Regions from separate parts of the Homo sapiens genome. Here regions 1 and 2 are each linked to region 3. The links are contacts of gene promoters, found by promoter capture Hi-C in blood cells and fetal thymus (Javierre and others, 2016). All regions are on one chromosome and are shown on one strand. Each heading gives the region's core, a stretch centred on a gene start or on the middle of the fragment in contact. The rest is flanking DNA. Distances are from core to core; before and after follow the strand shown.

Region 1 (4,145 bases), core at 380-2,879, 280 kb after region 3:
AACTAGTATCATAACCTCCAGCTAGAACAATGTGAAAAGGTAGTTCGTAATACGAACTATAAACAAATACACACACACACACACACACACACACACACACACACACACACAGACTGAAAGGGTTTATAAGAAATTACAGCTAGAAAATAACAATATTTAATGTATGTATTTTTGGCCTTCATATCTTGGTAGTGGATTGACATGAGGTCTACACTACAGGCCATAGATGGTTTTAATAAATCAAGAGTCTATACCAATGATGAGCAATCTTATAAAACTCCTAATTCAATAAATTATAGGCTGAATTTTTTAAAAATAAAAAGTTTTATTAAATCCCATGGAAAAGATGAATAGGCTTAAAATCTGAACTATCATCTTTACAGAACAGAGGAAAGTCCATAAAAACTAGCACTGCCTTTTGCCATCAGGGAAACAGCTTTCAAACCTTTTTTTCTCCTCAAATTAGATTATGTGCAGCTGTCCACAAAATCCCAGCTTTCTCATTATTACCCTATAGTCTCACAGCACATAAGACATCATACAATAAATGTAAATACTTGAGTGACTTTAATATCTTTCCAATAGAAATAGAAATTTTAATACCTCAAATATTACAATGTGGTGATTATATTAAAATCAATAGATCTATGCACATTACTCACTTTGACCATTGTCTCAGGAGATACTTCTTCATCTGGAACCCAAAGTTTAGTTGTCTTTTTCCCTGGAAGCTAAAAATAAACGAGAAAAAAAAAAAAACCAGGGACTTTAAAATGTAAATATGAATTCTTTTCAATTAGCACTTAGAAAATGAATGAAATCTGTACCTTCTGCAGTGACATTTGTTATATATGACTAAAGTACTTCATCTAACCCTATTTACTTTAAAAAAAAAAAAAGGTTGAAAGGCATACCTTCACTAGCGCCTATGTACAGCACTTATAGATCCATCACGACTGGTTCTTTCTAGGTCTGTGGTGGGACTAACTCTAACTTCTTACACATCACTCCCTTATTTAGCCCCTTTTGAGATTCAATTATTTAATGCAAGAACTAGGATTTTAAAAAAACATGGAGCCAAAAGGTGTAGCTCTTAAACAAGAAGAAAGGTATAAAAAAAAAAAATCTTGAGCTGGAGGGGTTTTGTTTTTGTTTTCAGCACAACTCCAAACTAATCCTGAGGTGATCATGTGCAAGTACTAGCAGGTAGGTGTTTACAGTAGTAACCAGGAAATTAAAATAAGATGGCAAAAGAGCTGAACCAATCTTGGAACACTTGAGATCCCATTTTTTACCCTCAGGTCAAAGAACAGGAATTGAATATCACCTCAGGTAACCCTCTGGTAACAAAACAGGTAGCCCCCAACATCTAAAAAGGCAAACTCCCTCAAACACAAAGAGCTACAGATTCACACACAGTTTATAACTCATTTCTTCCATTGAGAAGTGCCTTCAAAGTATGAAGTAAAAATAATGAAAAAGGAATCACATTAGGCACCTTGTGATGAAATTTCTAACTAAGGATGTCAAGATCCCAAAAGCTTCCATAAAGAAACTACCAAAAAGGAATAAAAGATTAACTTCAGATTTCTCAGCTGCAAGACCAGATGCCAAAAAAACAATGCTCTGAATTTTCAAGTGACTTGAAACACAGAATTCTAATATCCAAAAAACAGTACTGAAGAATGAACACTAGAATTCAAGACAGAAAGCTTCCAAATTACAATCCATGTTGAAAGAATTACTCAAAGATAACACTATTTAATTCACAAGAAAAAACTAAATTAGTATAAACTATTACAAATACAAAGAAAAATGAAAACAAAAACCTTACATAAATAAGAAACTATCAGATACTACCAGAAACAACAGAGACTATCAGGTAGATTTATAAATAATAAAGCCACAAAAGATACAATAAAAACAAACAACATAAGAAATCTGAAAATTATGGGATGGAAAAATATACCAGTCAAGATGAAAAGCACTGAAGAGGATATGGACTTAAATGGGATACTGATATATTTTATCTTACAACACCAAATAAAATATAAAATTCATGAACATTTACACAACTAGCAGAATAACATCAAAATAAACCAGAACCAACATGATTAAAATCAGAAGATTGAATACTTCATCACAGCAGAATATGTGAATATATCTCTTTCAAAAACTGGTAAGTTAGGATGAAAAAGGATAAATACCTAAAATGGAAGTAAATATACAGAAATAAAATATGCAAGCATTAGAAAATAATCAAAGCTGGCATTCTTTATAATTGACAAAATTAGAATTTAGCAAGAAAGATGGATATAAAATCAGAATTACCAAATAATTCACCTTATCAATCATAAACATAAAACATAATCTTAAAAACTTTATTTAGTGCCTAACATAAGTTGTGTGAGAGAAATTTAAAATTTTTCTTTTTAGAGAAAACTATAAAACATTAAGGAAAGACATCTTGTGGATGGGCAAACGCATCAGTGGAAAAGAACAGAGGCTCTATAGGAGACATGAGTGGTAGCACTGCAGATTACCAGGAGATGGTAAGATATTTAATAAACAGTGCTGGGAAATTTGGTAACCCTAACATGCAGCAAAAATGAAATCCTTATATCACAGCATACAAAAAAAAAAAGTAAATCAATTCCAGATGGATTGATTTTTGTGTGTGTAAAAAAAGAAAACCTTCAAAGTTTTAGAAGAACATATGGGAGGCTATTTTCATGACATTAGAGTAGGAAAAGATTTCTTAAATAAGATGTAAAAAGTATTAACTACCAAAGAATAATGATAAATACAGCTACATTAAAAGTAATAACTTTTGTTCAGGCCAGGCGCGTGGTGGCTCATGCCTGTAATCCCAGCACTTTGGGAGGCTGAACTGGGTGGATCACGTGAGTTCAGGAGTTGGAGACCAGCCTGGCCAACATGGTGAAACCCCATCTCTACTAAAAATACAAAAACTAGGTGGACATGGTGGTGGGCGCCTGTAGTCCCAGCTACTCGGGAGGCTGAGACAGGAGAATGGCTTGAATGTGGGAAGTGGAGGTTGCAGGGAGCCGAGATGGCGCCACTGCACTCCAGTGTGGGTGACAGAGTGAGACTCCATCTCAAAAAGAAAAAAAAAGGAATAACTTTTGTTCAAAGGATCAAAGGACACAATAAAGGAGTGAAAAGACACACATAAATGAGGTTTTACACACTTCATGATGATACTATAACATGTACCAGATAAAAGATTAATATAGGTACAGATTGCCTATGGGAAAAAAACACCAAGGGGAATAAAAGGTAAAATACATCAAAAGGGAATTTCAGAAAGTAGGCAACATGAATGGTGACTAGACACACAAACTTAATTAGTAACCACAGAAATGCACATTGGGACTATAATGAGCTATAATGAGATACTGTATCTATTAGATATTTTCTCCCAACAGTGTATAATAACATTATTGTCAGATTTCTTAATAGAAAAATAAGTTTTAACAAACATTATAAAAAATGACTTAAAAAAAGTGAAAAGTTAAATATGTCTATATACCGTGATTCATCAACTTCACTCGTAGGAATAAAACCTAGAGAAATTCTTGCTCATATGTAGCAGGGGGCTTCAATAGAAACATTCATAGCAGCACTGTCCGAAAGAGTAAAGAAATGGAAATATTCCACAATCTACTAGAAGAATAAATAAATTACGAGATATTTTCCACAGTGAAATTATAGAGTAACAAATGAATGAACCACAGTTAGATTTAGTAACGAAGATTATTCTTAGAAACAAATGTGGAGTGATAAAAGCAAATCCTCCAAGACTATACAGGGTATGATATAATGCTTAGAAACCTCAAGAACAAGCAAAACTAAACAAGTATGTGGTAAATTTTGTTGCTGTTACAGATTAACCCAAGATTCAAGAGAGTAGATATTAGGGACAAGGAGGAAGTAGAAAGGATTGAAGAGTAATAAAACTCTAAGAACTCTAAGGAACTAAGAGTTCATAGGTGTTCATTGTATTATGAAACATGTTATACAAATGTTACATATATTCCTTTGTACATATCAAATATATAATAAAACAAGACAAATTAATGGATTAAAAATGGTGAGCAGTTCTGTTTCTGACAAGATGTGAC
Region 2 (4,299 bases), core at 1,226-3,725, 340 kb after region 3:
ACATGCCTGTGATCCCAGCTACTTGGGAGGCTGAGACAGGAGAATCACTTGAACCCAGTAGGGAGAGGCTGCGGTGAGCGGAGATCGCATCATTGCACTTCAGCCTGGGCAACAAGGGCAGAGCTCCATCTCAAAAAAAAAAAAAAAAAAAAAATTTTAAAGGCCAGGCGTGGTAGCTCACACCTGTAATCCCAGCACTTTGGGAGGATGAGGTAGGTGGATCACTTGAGGCCAGGAGACCAGCCTGGCCAACACGGTGAAACCTCGTCTCTACTAAAAATACAAAAAAATTAGCCAAGTGTGGTGGCACACAGCTGTAGTCCCAGCTACTCGCGAGGCTGAGGCAGGAGAATCGCTTGAACCCAGGAGGTGGAGGTTGCTGTGAGCTGAGATCGTGCCACTGTACTCCAGTCTGGGTGACAGGGCGAGACTGCCTCAAAAAAAAAAAGAAAGTTTTTTAAAAGGGACAAATAACAAGAGAAGAGATCACAACAAGAGATCACAGGCAAGAGATGTGTCAACAAAATTTTGGCAGATGGACAACAAGTAAATGTCACAGGACAAAGGAAAAGGATGAAACCCAAATGGGAAAGAAAACAATACACAAGCTTATTTCCAGGAAGAACACTGAAAACATTTAAAATAGTTGAAGAACCTATAAGAATGGTTAAAAACAAAAAGACTGAAAACACAAAATGTTGTCAAGGACGCTAAATGACTGGAACTCTCATTCATTGCTGGTACAAATGTAAAACAGTATAACTAATATGGAGACTGTTTTCACTGTCTCTTATAAACATGTATCTACACTATGACCAGCAATTTAATTACTGTTTTCAAAAAGAAATAAGAACATAAGCCCACAGAAATACTTGTATAAGACTATTCACAGTAATCACTATTAATAGCCCCAAATCAGAAACAACCCAGATAACCATCAAAAGAAGTGGGTAAACAAATTATGGTATATTCATACAACGGAATAATAATAAAGAATAAATTAACAAAACAGGATAAATTTCAAAAACATGTTATGTGAAAGCAGCCAGATCTCTCTCCATTCCCCACCCTCAAAAAGAATAGTACACATTGTATGATTCAACATATATGAAATTCAGAAACAGGCAAAACTAACCTACAGAAATAGAAACCAGAAAATGGTGAGAGAACTAACTGGAAGGGGATACAGGGGGACTTTTTGGCATCATGGAAATTCACTCTCTTCAAACATCAAACTGAACACTCAGGATCTGTATATTTTAAGCTAATTACACTTTTTTTAAGTTAAAAAAAAGGAAACTGTAGAACAGACTCTGATATTTTCTCTAAAATATGGATAAATCTGAGTTAGCTGTTCAGGTAGTCATCCAAATACCTTATCAATTAGGATTCACAGAGCTTTCCATATACCCCTGTGGCAGAGAATAATTAAGTGAGAAACTTGTGGAGGCATGTTATCTCTGTATGTCATATCCAAACATTTAAATATTACAATATATACTACTTTATTATAAATGACTTCCCTTTTGTTTCTCCTGTATATTACAAATAGGGCAATTAATTTTTTAACTTTTTAAGTGGATTGTTTTATCTATTCATTTTATTTAAGGATCTCAAAGGGAGAATTACAAATTATTTGCTTAAAAAGGGAGGTACTGGGTCTGATAAGGTTGAGAAGCACTACAGTATAAGGTTCACACGGATAAAGTGAAATGATCCTGCTAGTCAGGAATGAAGCTGGAGAAACGTAAAATGGAACAGGGTATATGGGGTTTAAAAGAAAATAATTGAAGATGTGATTGAAACTACTAAAAAAAAAAATCAAAGCCTCACTTTTTTTTTTTGAGACTGAGTCTTGCTCTATCGCCCAGGCTGGGGTGCAGTGGCGCGATCTCTCGGCTTACTGCAACCTCTGCCTCCCAGGTTCAAGCAATTCTCCTGTCTCAGCCTCCCGGGTAGCTGCGATTACAGGTGTGCACCACCACACCCGGCTAATTTTTGTATTTTTTAGTAGAGGTGGGGTTTCACCATGTTGGCTGGGCTGGTCTCAAACTCCTGACCTCAAGCAATCTGCCCGCCTCGGCCTCCCAAAGTGCAGGGATTACAGGCATGAGCCACCGTGCCCAGCCTCAAGCCTCACTCTTTCAAACAAAAGCAAGGATTGCTTTATTACTCTTATACTTTTATCACTTTATCTAGCAGTGAAAACCTCTGAAACCTGCCATCATATTTCAGCTAGGGGAGAAAGAAAGAATCTTCTATAGAATGAGATACCGCAAGCCCTCATCTGTAACAACAGTGAGTAGAAGTTAAAAAGCAAGAAATGACTGACTCTAAGGCTACTGGGAAACAGGAGATGGGAAGCCAATATGAGCCTAAGAAGGAAACGTATACGTTGGCAGGATATTTCCAGCACTGCCTCTCTCCTACTCAGTCAGTATAAATCCTTTGCGGCCTATGTAACCTAACATGACAGCAAATTCAGTGAAAGAGAAATTCTATTTAGCCATGTACAAATCAAATTGGTGCACACTGCTACACATTATCAACAGCAAAAAAGCAGGGGTCTGGTTTTACTTAATAACTGAAAAACATGATTTAAATATTTCAATAAAAAAAATTCAAAATCAGCCTGGGCAACAGAGTAAGACCCTGTCTCTTAAAAAACAATTTAAAAATCACAACTAAGCAACCAACTCAATATACACTACACTCTTCAAAAGGCATAGGAACTAGCAACAAGAACTTCTGGATCTTAAAACAAGGAAGAGAAGGAAGGACTGGGTGAAGGCTGTTTGAGAAATCCATCAAGGAGATTGCCCCTATTCCACACCAAAAGAAGTCTGGAGATAAATACTATAATAAAAATATAAAACAGTAGCTCTAAACTGGGGGACCCCAAACGGTTGAGGGCATGGATACCATACCCAAAAGGGGATTATGTGACAACTAATCTGAAATGTGAATGCAGAAACCCATCATTCTTTTCCCAAACACATTAGTAACTCACCTTTAACTTCTAGATAAGATACTCTTCTATTAGAAATTTGACAGGATGAAGAGGAAGTATCTAAACTAAGGGCTCCCCAACAAACAACTCACTCTGATCACCCAAAAGTGAAGTTCAGAGTTGACAGACCCAACCATGTACTCAGAGTGTTCCAAATAGTTTACAGCTTTTTATTCAGCCCCCCACTCTTAATCATGAGCAGACAGCCACAGATTGCCAATCATTTGAGGAAAGCATATACTCAGGGCTTTCCAAACAGCTTTTGATTTAGCCCCCCCACTCTTAATCATGAGCAGACGGCCTCGGATTGCCAATCATTTGAGGAAAGCCTTTAACATGGAAAAAAAGACAAAAGCAAATATAAGGTGAAAAAAACAAATAGCAGATACAGACATTTTGGAAGAAAAAGAAAAATTCCCCAAAAAACTACCTACCATTGACACTCTCAGAGAAAATACTGTATTAGCAACACAAGAAAAGGATGCTAAAGAAAAAGGAACATCCAGAGAAAAAGGGAAGGAGAAAGGGGAGGTGTAGAAACAGACACACACACACACACACACACACACACACACTCACAGACGAAGAGGAAAGGAGGGAAAAAGAAGGGAGGAGGATGGAAGGGGAGAGCAAAGATGGGAGGAAGAATGGATGGCCCTAAGGTCAATGCTGTAGAGCAGAAGCTCAGAGCAAGCTGTCTAAGCACTGCAAATTTGAGTAGGAAATCAGAAAGCTCCAAGTGGGATGTCTCCCAAAAAGGATGAAACTGGTAAAATATCTGCTGTTTTATTCATTTATTTATTTATTTTTTTTTTTTTTTTGAGATAAAGAGTTTCGCTCTTGTTGACCAGGCTGGAGTGCAATGGCACAATCTCAGCTCACTGCAACCTCTGCCTCCCAGGTTCAAGCAATTCTCCTGCCTCAGCCTCCTGAGTAGCTGGGATTATAGGCGCATGCCATCACACCCAGCTAATTTTTGTATTTTTAGTCGAGACGGGGTTTCATATTGGTCAGCATGGTCTTGATCTCCTGACCTCAGGTGATCTGCCCACCTTGGCCTGTGCTCGGCCTGAAGCTAGAATTTCTACAGCATAGTTCCTACATAGGTTGGAAGCATCTATGAAAATGTCTGTCTCCAGGAACAATTACTAGTTTCTTAGTTTAAGGACAATTCTAAACTTATTTTAGACATTTGGATTTGAACAGGTCTTGACTTTGACTAGATTATAAGACTAATGTTCTTCAATATTTTAAGAACTTAGGTGAGTCATGGTAAACTAATTTAACCA
Region 3 (4,403 bases), core at 995-3,494:
CACCAGCCATACACTGGTGGTCTTTAGAGTTTTTCAGATCCATAAAAGGATTGAAAAAGTATAAGAATCACCGCTCTAAAACATCCTTATGAAAAGACATACATAAGTATGAAATCACAAAAATCACAATGTGTTTCCAAACAAATCCAACATTCTTTTATGGCCAGTAGCAGCAAACAGGTTTTGTGGAACTGACATAAAATCTAATTTAGCCATTATTACAACATTACCAGCAGCTCAGAGCACTAAGTCACCTCAATAACCCAGTACTGCTCTGCCCATATTATCTATGGCTTTAATTAAAAGTGTTTAGAAATGGTTTTAGTACTGACTTTGTTCAGAATATGTGGCTGAATTCTAAATTTAAAAATAAGTCTTCCAGTAGGCCCACAAGTGATCAGAATTGGGTACCAAAAGTTGTACATTTAAACACTTTTATTAAAATGTTTATACATGTACATAAAATATTTTATTGTGATACAAAACTCTGTACAAAGTGTACTAACAACTGACATGATTATAAATGAATCCCCAAAACAATGGTGCCTAAATTTGAACACTAAGGAGAAAAAAGGAGGAAGAAATACTTGAGACAACTTTACCATGGCATAGCAATATTTCCTGCTGTCAAAATTAATAAAATATTTTGCACAAGGGTGTTACAATTAATTTTATCAGGCTAACAATGTCATAAGTGAGGAACCCTTTCAACTGTAGAGAGCACTGTGGAAATATAGATGTGGTAGAACAATCTATATCACCCTGCAGTTGTTTCTGTGTTTCTATGACTAGCTTTGTTTGAGATTGTATAAAGCGGTCTTCACACCCCGGTGAATAAGATTGGTGGATGCAGTTCCCTGCCCTGCCGCAGAAGGGACCTCCAAACACAGTTTAAATCTGACTCTCCGGGAGTTGTGTTTTGACACTTTCACAACAGTGTGAACTTGTGCCACAAGCAAGACAGATCTTATTGGATTAACACTGAACTCGTGACAGCTCCAGAGAGTAATGCTATCTGTGCGGCTTAAGAACAAACGTGTTTCTTTCATCCACCCTGCTCATTCTCTTCCTGCAGTTACTCCTAGCAAATCCTCCCCGCCCTCACCTCTAGGAATTCCTCTACACCCAGAGAAAGGAGTTTCTTTCCTCACTGCGGAAACCTATCACCGCTTCCTTTCCACAGATGGACTCCAAGGGGCACTCACTCGTGTGCCCACTAAGGGATTTCTCTCCTAATTCCACGCCTTCCAAGGGAAGTCAGAACTGCTCAGTTTCCCCCGGTGACCACATACACGTGTCCAAGTGAAGCCTCGTCTGGGGGAGACTCAGTTCCCACACTTCCCCCTGGCCCCTGTGGAGGCCCTCTGTCTCCCCTGCGTGGCCCTCCGCCTGGCCCCTCGCACTCACCAGGAGGAGGTTGTGCGCCACCAGGTACCCGAGCCGCGGGCTGCCCCGGATGCCGGGGGCCAGGCGCCCGGTGGCGTAGCCGTGCCAGGCCACCACGTAGGGGTTGTCGATGGTGATCCAGTACTTGACCTGACCGCCGAAGTGGCGGAAGCAGAGCTCCGCGTAATCCCTGAAGTGGTCGGCCAGGGCGCGGTTGGCCCAGCCGCCGTAGGCGTCCTGCAGGCGCTGGGGCAGGTCCCAGTGGTACAGGGTGACCACGGGCTGCACGCCCAGCTCCCGCAGCCGCTCCAGCAGGCGCCGGTAGTAGCGCAGCCCCTCGCGGTTGGGGACGCCCGCGCTGCCATTGGGGAGCACTCGCGCCCACGAGATGGAGAAGCGGTAGTGAGTGACCCCGAGCTCGCGCAGCGCCTCCGTGTCGCGGAAGACGTTGTTGTAGCTGTCGCTGGCTACGTCCCCGGTGGCGGGCTGCAGCGGCGACGGGGCGCCCAACGGCAGACTGGCGTTCCGGGAGTCTCCCGGGGGTGCCAGGGGGTGGTGGGTGAACGTATCCCAGATGGACGCACCCTTGCCGTGCTGCTGCCAGCCGCCCTCGGTCTGGTAGGCGGCGCTGCCCACGGCCCAGAGGAAGCCGTCGGGGAAGGTGCCCTGGAAGAGGCCCGCGGCCTCGGGGGCAGGAGGCCGCGAGAAACGGGCCCAGGTCTGCGCGCCGTCGCCCGGCTCCGCACGCAGGCGGCGGCCGCCCAGGCCCAGCAGCACCAGCAGCAGCGACAGCGACGGCGGCGGCGGCCGCGGGCGGCGCGGCGGGGCGCTGGCGGGCATGCTGCGCGGGAGCCAGGCTCCGGGGCCCCGCGCCGCGCCCCTTTATGCCCGCGCCCCGCCGCGCCCGCCCGCCCACCGCCGGCGCGCCCACCCCCGCTCCCCGGCGGGCTCCGCTGGCAATAATTACCTGCGAGCCGGGACTGCCTCCGCCCTGGCACTGGGGGCGGGGGCAGGGGCGCCGAGGGCGAGGGGTGCCCGGGAGGGGCGCGGCAGCGGGCAAGGTGCGGCAGGCGTCGCCCGCGGACGTCGGAGAAAGGCACCTGTTTCTCCCAGCTCCCGGGAGCCGTGCAGGACGTTTCGTGGACGCTCAGGTTCATTCTCTTTGCCTGCCGCGCGTCCTCTGAGAGCAGCCCTGGAGCGGCTTCGTCGGGGAGAAAAGGCGCCGACCAACTTTCCCCGACTTGGGGGCGGGATCCTGCCGGGCCCTAGCGGAGCGCGCCGCTGGGGAAGCACCTGCTCTCACTTTTCTCCCACTCGGAGGCCCAAAGAAGCTCCGGCTGGACATTGCTGGAGCCAATTAGGGACTGGCCGAAATCCTAGAGGGACTGCCAGGTGGGACAGCCGAGGGGGAACTTCGCCGTGCGCTGAAAGGGATTCCCCCTTAGGTGAGATGCTCGCGGGGAGACGCGCCCACCCGCGCCCCTCTTTCGAGGAAGACAAAGTAGATTTATGGGTTGCGTTGGGACTGGGGTTTTGCTCTCCCTTTTACTGTTACCTTTTAATAATTTCAAACCAGCACTCTATCTTTGATTAGATCTCTCAGAATACCCTGGTGAACTTCAAATCACAGTCGTTGATTGTTCTCCTGAAAAACCAAACACCAAGTTTCCAATTTTGAGTAAATCTCATTCACCTTTATTATCCTTTGGCATCTGTGTTACCTTTCGGCTCTGACTTAGCAGGTAATCTGTGCAAAGTTGTGCGCACAGGTCTGCTGGAGCGGGAGGTCCCTGGGTCGCACATTTGCCATCTGAGCTGTGGAGGGAAAGGGGAGGGAGAATTTAGCCGGAACACCCATTCCCATCCTCTACAATACAATGGAGCCATGACGTTTTTCCTGTTGCCAAAGAGCCCTTTTGACAGAAGTTGCAGAGCCACAGTGTCCATTTGGATGTGGGTAGATAGGATTGTGGCTAACCGAAATACAGTTGGTGGAGACTGAGAAGGTCTAGGCTCCACCTTTGTGATTTGGGGCAGGAAACCTCTGTAAGCCTAAGTTTCCTCCTCTATAAAATAAGGATGTCCTGTCTGCCCTGCCGCCTCAGAGGCTTGTGAAGTCCAGTGAAAAACTGCGCAAAGGTGACTCAAAGACAGAAAGCCCAGACAAGTGAAGGATCTTGCTAATATCCCTACCTCCCTACCCAGTAAGTCGTGCCTTAGTTTCCTCACCCGTACACGTGTGTTGAATGACCAAGATCCTCACAGAGGTGCATCCATTCTCCCCCAGTGATCTATCTTCCCTGCATTATTTAATACAAATTTAAAGGCAATAACATTTTAAATGTTGCAGATGAAGGTGCTTTTATTAATTCCCCTGAAATATAAGCACAAATTTATTCCAGTATTTTATGAAATATTCCCAACTCCAGCCAGCATATATTACCATGATTAGTAAGATTAAGTCTTCAGATTGAAACAGAGTTACTGCCATTCTGTTAAATATAGCATTTACATTTTTTCAATAAATACGAAATAGCAAACCATGACACTTCAGCAATTTTAAAAAATTACAGCACACAACTTCACTGTCACGCTGTCTTCCAGCTAAATTTAAAAAGCTACGTCTACATGGAGTATCACATTTCCCTTCTAGAAGTGAAGATTGGAGTGTCTGTTGGGTTGTAGCTTGTTAAGTTTCAATTAGAAATGCTTCATGGGTCTCATGGAAAATCGCTTAAGCTAAGTATTCATTTATTGATGTATGGTCTGTTTGCTCAGGGCAGATTTTATCTATTGCTATTTTTACTTGACCAGCAGCATTTTTTAAATTTTAAAGCAGTGATTAAAAAGCAAGACCAAGTTAACTAAACGTTTCACATTTGAAATTTGTCTGCCACATAGGCACATGCATCTCAAAGCTTTAAGCATTCCAAGACATGTTCCCAGATGATTGTTCATTTAACCCAGTGATAAAGATTGCATGATGATTAAACTTTATTTCCAGAACTTTCTGTTTA

Evidence for each region. The method cuts DNA at HindIII sites, captures the fragments that hold promoters and counts their contacts. A CHiCAGO score of 5 or more calls a contact.
Region 1: a contact is called between a fragment that was not itself captured here and the fragment with the promoter of KL in region 3, in 1 of 17 cell types (M1 macrophages). The highest score is 5.1, in M1 macrophages.
Region 2: a fragment that was not itself captured here is called in contact with the fragment with the promoter of KL in region 3 in 1 of 17 cell types (M2 macrophages); the score reaches 5.1 in M2 macrophages.

Annotation. Positions count from the first base shown.
Region 1 is chr13:32,737,666-32,741,810 of GRCh38, reverse strand. It overlaps PDS5B (PDS5 cohesin associated factor B), which reads right to left. Exons shown (of 35, transcript NM_015032.4): 22 at 663-731. Among named protein-coding and RNA genes, the nearest start is that of PDS5B, 150 kb to the right of the region's middle. The HindIII fragment of the contact is 171 bases long and covers 1,544-1,714 here.
Region 2 is chr13:32,679,171-32,683,469 of GRCh38, reverse strand. The region is part of intron 10 of PDS5B (PDS5 cohesin associated factor B); the gene reads right to left. Among named protein-coding and RNA genes, the nearest start is that of PDS5B, 95 kb to the right of the region's middle. The HindIII fragment of the contact is 3,730 bases long and covers 611-4,299 here.
Region 3 is chr13:33,014,264-33,018,666 of GRCh38, reverse strand. It overlaps KL (klotho), which reads right to left and starts at 2,244. Exons shown (of 5, transcript NM_004795.4): 1 at 1,408-2,244. The coding sequence starts at 2,226. It overlaps LOC124903151 (translation initiation factor IF-2-like), which reads left to right and starts at 2,214. Exons shown (of 2, transcript XM_047430819.1): 1 at 2,214-2,831. The coding sequence starts at 2,225. RefSeq lists enhancers at 1,219-1,278, 1,487-2,064, 2,065-2,640 and silencers at 1,349-1,448, 2,139-2,208. The HindIII fragment of the contact is 5,190 bases long and covers 1-4,306 here.